Linked DNA regions of Homo sapiens: region 2 is linked to region 1. Evidence: promoter capture Hi-C in 16 types of primary human blood cells and fetal thymus (Javierre and others, 2016). All regions are on one chromosome and are shown on one strand. Each heading gives the region's core, a stretch centred on a gene start or on the middle of the fragment in contact. The rest is flanking DNA. Distances are from core to core; before and after follow the strand shown. Region 1 holds the start of PRM2 (protamine 2). Region 2 overlaps CLEC16A (C-type lectin domain containing 16A).

Region 1 (4,709 bases), core at 1,676-4,175:
GGGCTCTGGCCTGTGTTGAGCTTGGCACAGCGGGAACCCATGGTCTACGTTGCCTGTCTCTCTGGGCAAGGAGGTGAGGCGGTGGGTGAAGGGGCTGCGAGTGGGGGCAGGATGCTGACATCACAAAGGGAGCCCATCCCCACTTGGGAACCTGGGTCTGAGCCAACAGTTAACTCACACCTCAGCCACTGGCAGCTCCCAGCCCCCACAGGGGAGGTCTGCAAGGCTGAGCACTGGGGCCAGTTCGGATGCCACACCATAGTCCTCATTTGCCCTGGAGAAAGTTTCCCTTGTAGCTGGGATGGGAGTTAGGGATTGAATTTCTAGAAGCAGGAGGGGCACACACAGACTCCTCCCCACATCCCAGAAATCGCCAGCCAGAGAGAGCTGTCTCTGTTGAGTTTCTTGACTGTTAACCCTTGGAAATAAATCATCAAGCTGTGTGCTTAAAATGTATGCACTCTGTAAGCTCATAAAACTCAGGAACCCTTGGAAGTCTTCCTTCGGGGGCCTGAAAGTGTGAAATCTTCTTGAAAGGCAATGGCTCCTAAGCATTGTTTGTTTGTCCAAGGCATGGGAACAGGCCAGAAACCAAGCTGGGATGAACAAGGGGTTGCTTTGTCCCTGACTGATGCAAGATGGACACCACCAACCAGAGGCCACTCTACCCAGGTCAGGGTGGAGTGACATCCTCTTAAGTGTTTTGGGGCCACAGAGAAGACATCATGGAGCTGCCCCTTGGCAAGGTTCCACATCTGTGCAGCACAATTTCAGCATGGGGGGAGGGGGTTTAGGACTTTGTCTTTTATACATTGAAATGAGTCGTTTGTACACTGCAATGGTATTTTTTAAATATAAATTTTTTGAGGCCAGGCGTGGTGGCTCACACCTGTAATCCCAGCACTTTGGGAGGCGAGGCAGGCAGATCATCTGAGGTCAGAAGTTCGAGACCAGCCTGGCCAACATCGTGAAACCATGTCTTTACTAAAAATACCAAAAAAAAAAAAAAAAAAAAATTTGTTTAGCTCCTTCAGCTACTCAGGAGGTTAGGGAGGAGAATCAGTTGAACATAGGAGGTGCAGGTTGCAGTGAGCCAAGATCGCACCACTGCACACCGCCCCAGTGACAAGAGCGAAACTCCGTCTGTTTTTTTTTTTGTTGTTGTTGTTTTGTTTTCAGAAACTCGTTGCTTCCTAAAGATTGGTCATTTCTGAGCACCAGAAATCCATTTGCCAACATATGGATTGGATCTTGCCAGTCTTATCCCCCCAGTCCTCAGTGGCTATGGTTGGCTAAGGTTGGCACTCTCCGAAGTGCCCCCTTCCTGATCCTGGAATCTATGATGTAAGGATTGTGAGATGGGGAGGTTATCTTGGGTTGTCCAGAAAGTCCCTCAGTGCAATCACAAGGGTCCTTGATTTCAGACAGGAGGGAGGAGTGATGCAGCCACAGGCCGAGGAGAGCAGGCAACAAGGATCGGATTCTGCCTGGGTCTCCAGAGGCTTCAGCCAGCACAGGCCTCACACAGCGCAGCCCATTACTCTGCATTCATCTACTCCTTGCCTTTTGCCGTCTCTGTGCTGACCAAGTTGTTGCTGGAGCATGCCAGACCTGTTTCCCACCTCGAAGCTGTGGCCTGCACTGAGCAGTGCCCCCACCTCTGCCCCCACCGTTTACACTTCCAACCACCCAACACTCAAGATGGGTTGTGTTTTTAAACTGTGGCACACAGTAGGCATTTAAATATGGCCACAAGGTGCCTTGGCATCTTTGTGACTTAATTAGGACTCGATCTGTTCTAACCATTTTCTCCTTTCATGAGGTAGGATCAGGTTCTTCACTGGAGGGGGATCCAGACAGACTAATGTGGCCTTTGACACCATGGAAGGATGCACAATAGACAGGACAGCATCATAGGGTGGCCTCCCAGGCACAGTAACCCTCTCCTAGGTGTCCTGAGAGCATCAGAACTCCCGCCCTACCTGCCTCTGAGGAAGGGCTGCAGAGAAGCCTCTACCCGCCCTGGGCGTGAGGGAAGCCAGGTTTGTGTGATTCGTGCAAAGAAAACCCGACAGGCCAGCGAGTGTCTTGTCAAGCTTTATTGGGCAGGTGACTTTTGCTCGTTTCACTCAGATCTTGTGGGCTTCTCGGCGGCAACTCAGGGCTTGAGCATTTGATGTAGGGGAGTTGCTATGGCCTCACTCGGTGTTTCTTGGGCAGGTGACTTTCTCTTAACTTCCAGCTGGGGGCTTGAGCATTTGATGTAGGGGAATTGCTATGGCCTCACTTGGTGTTTCGGGCGACTTTTTCTTAATTTCCAGCTGGGGGTGAGGGGCCCAGGAAGCTTAGTGCCTTCTGCATGTTCTCTTCCTGGTTCTGCAGCCTTTTGGGAAAGAAAGTTCTGGTTGAGGGGGTCACCTAGGGACTCTGGGTGGGGACGGGGGTTAGGGGGCTGGAGCTTTTGTCAGGTGGGGTGGGTCCCCGCCTCCCTCCTGTGCCTGGGGTGGTCAGGGACATGCAGGGCAAGGCGGGGGCGCAGGCAGACCTCTGCGATGCCTCCTCCGGTGCCTGCAGGAGCGTCTTTTGCGCCTTCTGCAGGAGCGATGCTGCCGCCTGTGGATCCGGTGCAGCCTCCTTCGAGAGCAGTGTCTGCGCCTATAGTGAGACTGGCCATGGGTCCTCTCGTAGACCTCGACGTGCTCCGGGCTCAGCCCTTGCTCCTCTTGGCCGTGGTGTCCTTGCTCTTGCCCATGCAACTGCTGCCTGTACACCTCGTGCGAGCGTTCGCTCAGGCTCCTCACGCGGTATCGGACCATGGTGTTGGGAGATCTGGTGGCTCCTGGGCTGAGGCTGCAGTGGGCCCTGGAGTAGGGGAGGAGGGCGGAGGCCTGCCCACCTGCCCTTGGTGTTACTGTTGGTCTGGTCTGCAAGGCTCCCCGGGAGCTTGTATATAAAGGGGGCGCCCACTATGACTCTGCGGCCCCGCCCAGTCCCCACCCTGCCCAGCCTCCTCTGTGAGGGCAGCACAGGGCCAGGGGTCACAACTAGCAGGGCCCTGGCACCCAAGCTGCAGGGCTGGAAGGGCGAGAGACCCCCTTGCCTTGCCTGTAAAGCATGTCCTCTGTCTCTTGCAGTAGGTGAACCATACAGATGGCAGGTGTTTTATTGCCTAATCCAAGCCCTCATCTCCCCAAGCCGGTGGGTGCGCACATTGTCATTTGGAAGCTTCCTTGCCAACTCACTGCTGTGCCACAGCCACCATGTGGAAGGGACTTCCGTGCTTGGATCTCTGTGCACACAGCTTACTGTTAAGATGGCAACAGCAGCAAACAGTTCCCTAATAGCTCCTATGTGCCAAGCATTGATTCATTTATTTCCCATACATTCACTCATTCTCTCTCTCTCTCTCTCTCTCTCTCTCTCTCCTCTTTTTGTTTTGAGGCACTGTCTGTCGCCCAGGCTGGAGTGCAGTTGTGCAATCATGGATCATAGCAGCCTCTACCCCTCCAGCTCAGATGATCCTGCCACCTCAGCCTCCCGAGTAGCTGGGACTATAGGCGTGTGCTGCCACTCCCAGCTAATTTTTTGTATTTTTTGTGGAGATAGATAGGGTTTCACCATGTTGCCCTGGCTGGTCTCACACTCCTGGCCTCAGTGAGCCTCCCATGTCGGCCTCCCAGAGTGCTGGGATTACAGGTGTGAGCCACCACCCTTGCATTCCTCACTCTTACAATCCTCATTTTCTGTGGGGCAAACAGGCATGAAGAAGTTGAGTTGCTCAAGGCCACTCTGCTGAGAAGGCCAGGCCGGGCCAGCATTCAGACGGAGACAGCCTGGTTTTAGTCATACCCTTGGCTCTCCACCTCCTCCCTAGCCCAGGGAATGCTCCCCTCTCCGCCTCCAAAATATTCATCTTCTCCCCTCCCGCTCGGCCTTGCCGGGGCTTCTCATTGAACTTTGATGATCCCATTAAAGTCCGGGATCAGAATCACAGAAACTGCAAAACCAGTTTCCCTTTCATGGAGGGCAGGGAGAATGTGGGAATGTGGCAGATACACAAATTTAAGGACTTGAAGATGCAGAGATCATCCCAGATGATCTGGGTTGGCCCAGTGCAGTCACGAGGGTCCTTAGAAGAGAGAATAGGGAGGCAGGAGGGTCACAGGAAGAGAAACTGGGAGACACCACACTGCTGGCTTTGAAGATGGAGGGAGAGGCTATAAGCCAAGGGATGCAGGCGGCCTCTAGAAGCTGGGATGGACAAGGAAATGGGTTATCCTCCCCTCGTGCATCCAGGAGGAACACAGCCCTGCTGACCCCTTGATTTTAGCCCCATGAGACTTCTTTCAGAATTCTGACCTGCAGACCTGTAAGATAATGCATTTATGTTGTTTAAAGCTACAAAATTTGTGATGATCTGTCACAGTGGCAATAAGAAACAAATTCAGGAGGCTTAATCTTCAGATCCTTACAGGAGGTGATGGGTGATATTGCCATGCCCTTGGTGTTTCTATGCTGCCTCTCTTTAGGGATAAGAAGGTCCTTTATGATGGCCCTCAAGCTCTTCGAGGGCGCGTGTTAAAAATATGAATGCTGAGGCCTTACCCTACGTCCCGCTAAGTCAAATCTCCATGGCCAAAGCTTGCAGATGAAAATAAGAAGGGGCGGGGCAGGGCTCGGTGGCTCACACCTGTAATCGTAGCACTTTG
Region 2 (4,624 bases), core at 2,087-4,586, 170 kb before region 1:
AGACAGTGGGGATTGTGATTCTTACCTATCTAGCCAGAGTTGCACCTGGGGTTTGGAGGCACGGCTGACTGGGTACACAGGCTCTACACCCCTGCCAACTGTCTGACCACGGTGGCTCTGCCTATGACACACTTATTTACTATTGGACAGCCTGACTAGCTCTTTTCTTAACTTTTGCCTAAAAAAAATTCAATCCATGGCTTCCTAGCTCTGAACTTGCCTCTGTGCATCAAGCTGAAGAAGGTGCAGGAGTTTCAGAGCCAGTCATTCCTTAACAGGGAGGTAAGACTGCGGGGGACTCAGCAATTTGGAGCCTGGGCTTTCTCACCACCTATCATGCCCTCCTACGGTCCTGCCAAAATCTCCTGTCTCTCTTTCACCTTTCCCTTTCTCCGCCTGCTGGTGGATTTCCTCTGCCAAGAAATTAGCAAGAGCAGCTGAAGGCGGTGATGCACACGGCCCGGCCAAAGTGAAGTCACCCCTGCTCCTGCTGTGAAAGCTGCTGATCTCTTTCTTAGCACAGGCAGCCAAATGTGGTTTACCCTTCTGGTCCAGATTTCACTAACTTAGTGTGGCCCAGAGAATCTTTTTACAAGATTGGGGTTTGGTTTCAAGCACATGGAGGGACTTGGACCTGACTCACTTGGGCATTTCCTGCTTGGGGTCCTGGGAATTGACCTCCCGGAAGATAACATTAGCAGCACAACCTCAAGTCAGTTACTGACCCTCTCAGGGTCTCAGCTTTCTCATGTGTAATGTGCAGATAATGGTACTGCCTGGGCTGGGTGGTTTTGAGTGCTTAGCTCAGTGTCAGATGCTTATTAAATATTACACTGTAACTGTTAGTATCTGAAATTAGCATGGGTATATGTTTGCAAGTGGCTGGAACTTTTGAAGAGTTTATTTGCAGGGTTTGCAGATGAACTTTTAAACAAAGTCTGTAACGGGTTGAATATACCTTTCCATTGTGCTGGTACAGTTTATACTCACAGATTTCTTTCAGTTACTGCTTTATGGTCTGTCTGTTGAGACTGTGGCTGCGTGAGGGCCAGACCTTCATTTTCAGCCCTGCAGCCCTAGTACCTGGGACTGTGCTTGGCCCATAGTAGATACACAGTAACTGTTTGATGAATTAATAAATAAAGGAACAAATGTCATGTTATTTTTTCTTAATATGCTTAGTAAACTCTTTGTTCGTGTTATATTTTAAGTTCCAGTCCAGGTCTTCATTATAAGCTTCCAATTAAGGGCCTGAGTTACATTTCACTGAATAATGATAGGCAAAAACCTTCAGTTCTCGCAGTGATCTTCCTAGTGTCCCCAGTTCCTGGGCAACTATTTATAGTCCTAGGTGTGGCTTTAATAAGCCACCCTTGTTGATGGGTCCCCACCCTCCGCAGCCTCACCCCCAACAGTCCTCACTGCCCTCTTCCTCATATCCCAGCCCCAACAAAGGACAGGAGTTTCCCAAACTCACCATGTTCCCTCCTGCCTCTGGCCCATGGTACATGCCCCTTCCCTGCATGTCCTTGACTGTCGCACTCTGCGTGTCACACTCTGCGTGTCTTGTTCATTCTGTTTTCTCCCTACTGGGCTGTGAGGTCCTACAGAGCAGGGACTGAGCCTTTTATCTTGTCTCTCCAACACCTTGGATGTCCAAGGTAGGCATCCCTCCTCTCCACAGACGTCTAGTGAGCACATACCGTGTGCCTGGCCATGAGCAGTGAACAAAAATGACAAAAATCCTTGCCCTCATAGAACTAATGTTCTAGAAGATACTCCATAAAAGTTTCTTGAATGAATGGAGCTCCCTTTTTTATTTTGCCCTTCATGAATTTCATAAGTAGTTCGTGTACAAGTTCATTTTTTTCTTTTCTTTTCTTTTCTTTTTTTTTTGAAACAGGGTATCCTTCTGTTGCCCAAGTTGGAGTGCAGTGATGCAATTATGGTCACTGTAGCTTTGACCTCCCTAGGCTCAAGTGATCCTCCCACCTCAGCCCCCCGAGTAGCTGGGACCACAGGTGCACACCACCACATCCAGATAATTTTTGCTTTTTTTTTTTTTTTTTGTAGGGACACGGTCTTGCCATGTTGCCTAGGCTGGTCTCAAACTCTTGGGCTTGAGCAATCTGCCTACCTCAGCCTCCCAAAGTGTTGGGATTATAGGTGTGAGCCACCGCACCTAGTTCATTTTTAAAAGAATTAAAAACTCAGAGGGAAAAATAGTTTGAGATTCTCCATTTTTACCATGGCTGAAACGTAGTTTAAATAAGGCCATCTGATTGGGGGTGTGGTATTGTATTACACACAGCTGTGCTGATAAGATTGCGTTTCACTTAAATCACATGCTTCCAGAATGTTGCTCTGCTGCCCAAAGTTTATTAGTAATCAGTTTGAACACAAAAGATTAAAAACGTAAAGCAGGGAATTTGGTTTGTGAGGTATACGCTTTTGTTTAAGTCCAAAGGTACAGCTTGTCTCCACCAGAGGTCTCCTATATTTTACTGTTAATGTTTGAAGTATATTGAATTCCCACAAGCTAATTAAAAATCAGACTGCTGTGCCGGTAAGCATTCACTCTGTGAACTAATTTCTGCCAAACGGCTATAAATGTGTCCCCTGGTATGAAATTTAGACATTCTTTCCCATCAGAAAAGAGGCATGTGGTTTAGTCCCAACCGCTTCATTTGAGTGACAAGGAAGCTGAGGTCCACCTGGAAAGGTCGGTTGCCCTGACTGAGGCCACACAGCCTAGTAAGTGGCCCCACTGGGCATCAGACCCAGGCCCCTTCTCCATCTCAGCTCAGTGTTCTCCCCACCAAATCCTGCTGGTTCTTGCTGGGTGGAACTCAGAGAGCTGCTGTTACTCCTAAGTGCCAGGCACTATCCTAGCACCTTACAAACATCATTGAGTTTTCATAGTAACACTATAGGGACAGTATTGTTAATATCACCTCTATTTGCTGATGAGGTACCTGAGGGCCAGAGGGGAGACGGCAACAAGCCGAGGTCCCACACTGGTAAGGGGCAGAGCTCAGTCTAAAGCAGCAGGCGGCCTGGTCCTCACTGTGCCTTCACCACAAGGCTGAACTGTCCCTGGAGGCTGAAACTCAGGGACAGACACAGAGGGAGGGCCTGAGAGATGGGCAAGCGAATGCTCCCCGGACCTTCTGGCGGAAATGAGGTGAAGAGCCTCAAACCCCAGAGGTTTGGTGGAAAATGGGAGGCTAGTGCTGGGCCCACAAGGGTCAGATCCAAGAATATGCTGGGGAGGAGCCAGCAGTCCCCCCAGAGAGGCCCAGTGGCGCTGCTCTCCACCTCTGCTTGGCCCATTGCTGGGCTTCTTTCAAGATCAATTTAAAACATTACCTCCTGACTGGGCACAGGGCTCACTCCTGTAATCCCAGCACTTTGGGAGGCTGAGGTGGGCGGATCACCTGAGATCAGGGGTTTGAGACCAGCCTGGCCAACATGGTGAAACCCTGTCTCTACTGAAAATACAAAAATTAGCCAGGCGTGGTGGCGCATGCCTGTTGTCCTAGCTACTCAGGTGGCTGACACAGGGGAATCACTTGAACCTGGCAGGTGGAGGTTGCAATAAGCCAGGAATGCGCCATTGCACTCCAGCCTGGGCAACACAACAAAACTCCGTCTCAAAAAAATAAAAATAAATCACCTCCTGCAAGAAGCCTTCTCTGACCCTTGGGCTGTGTCATGGCCTGTCTTCCAGCAGTCTACATCCTCCTGGTCTTCCCCTGCTGTGGCTCTTGTCCCATGGCATGTAATTGTCACTTCTTTGGGCTCCCATGCTAGACAGGAACCCCTGAGGGACAAGTCTTACCCATCTCTGTGGTCCTCTTTGCCAAGCAGAGTCCAGCACCCCCAGAAATGTTTGAATGAAAAGTCTGAGGCAGTGATGAATGGGTGTACCGGTTCCATCTATGAAGCCTTTTCTTCCCCACAACTGGCCTATGTCGGAGGAGAATCTGGGTTGGATGTTAGCAGGAGAGAATGCCTCCTTGCTTAGAAGAGCCTTGAATGCCAGGCTCAGATCCATTTGACCAGAAGAGCTCCTTGAGGTCTGGCCAGCATCTGTGGGTACCAGGATCCCCCACAGATGTGTGTGGCACCCACAGATGCCTTCTCTAGCAGTGTTAGTAATATAGATCCCAGAGGTGAGTTTTGTTTTGGGGGGTTTTTTTGAGACAAGGTCTCACTCTGTCGCCCAGGCTGGAGTACAGTGGTACAATCTCAGCTTACTGCAACCTCTGCCTCCTGGGCTCAAGCAGTCCTCCTGCCTCAGCCTTCCAAGTACCTGGGACTACAGCCATGTGCCACCATACCCAGCTAATTTTTTTTTTATTAAAATTATCTCCCTAGGAGTCATAGAGATGGGGTCTCACTATATTGCCCAGGCTGTTTTCAAACTCTGAGCTCAAGCAATCCTCCCACCTCAGCCTCCCAAAGGATGGGATTACAGGTATATGCCACCACACCCAGCATATCCCAGAGGTTTTAACATATTCTCTAGACTATGTCCTCTGCCTGGGGACCTCACCCCCTAAGGAAGGAGAATACCCTGGGCCAGGATCTGCTCTCTGGAATACCCTTGTGTACTTTTCTG

What was found. Contacts are between HindIII fragments. The CHiCAGO score rates a contact against its expected background, and 5 or more counts as called.
Region 2: a contact is called between a fragment that was not itself captured here and the fragment with the promoter of PRM2 in region 1, in 3 of 17 cell types (activated CD4 T cells, naive CD4 T cells and naive CD8 T cells). The highest score is 8.0, in activated CD4 T cells.

What each region holds. Positions count from the first base shown.
Region 1 is chr16:11,273,555-11,278,263 of GRCh38, forward strand. It overlaps PRM2 (protamine 2), which reads right to left and starts at 2,926. Exons shown (of 2, transcript NM_002762.4): 1 at 2,546-2,926; 2 at 2,085-2,383. The coding sequence starts at 2,816. The coding sequence ends at 2,346. The region is part of intron 1 of LOC105371082 (a long non-coding RNA gene); the gene reads left to right. PRM3 (protamine 3) reads right to left here and starts at 75. Exons shown (of 1, transcript NM_021247.3): 1 at 1-75. The coding sequence starts at 41. It also overlaps the pseudogene LOC124900380. The HindIII fragment of the contact is 881 bases long and covers 2,343-3,223 here.
Region 2 is chr16:11,099,925-11,104,548 of GRCh38, forward strand. All of the region lies in intron 19 of CLEC16A (C-type lectin domain containing 16A), which reads left to right. Among named protein-coding and RNA genes, the nearest start is that of SOCS1, 150 kb to the right of the region's middle. RefSeq lists an enhancer at 626-735. The HindIII fragment of the contact is 4,204 bases long and covers 1,235-4,624 here.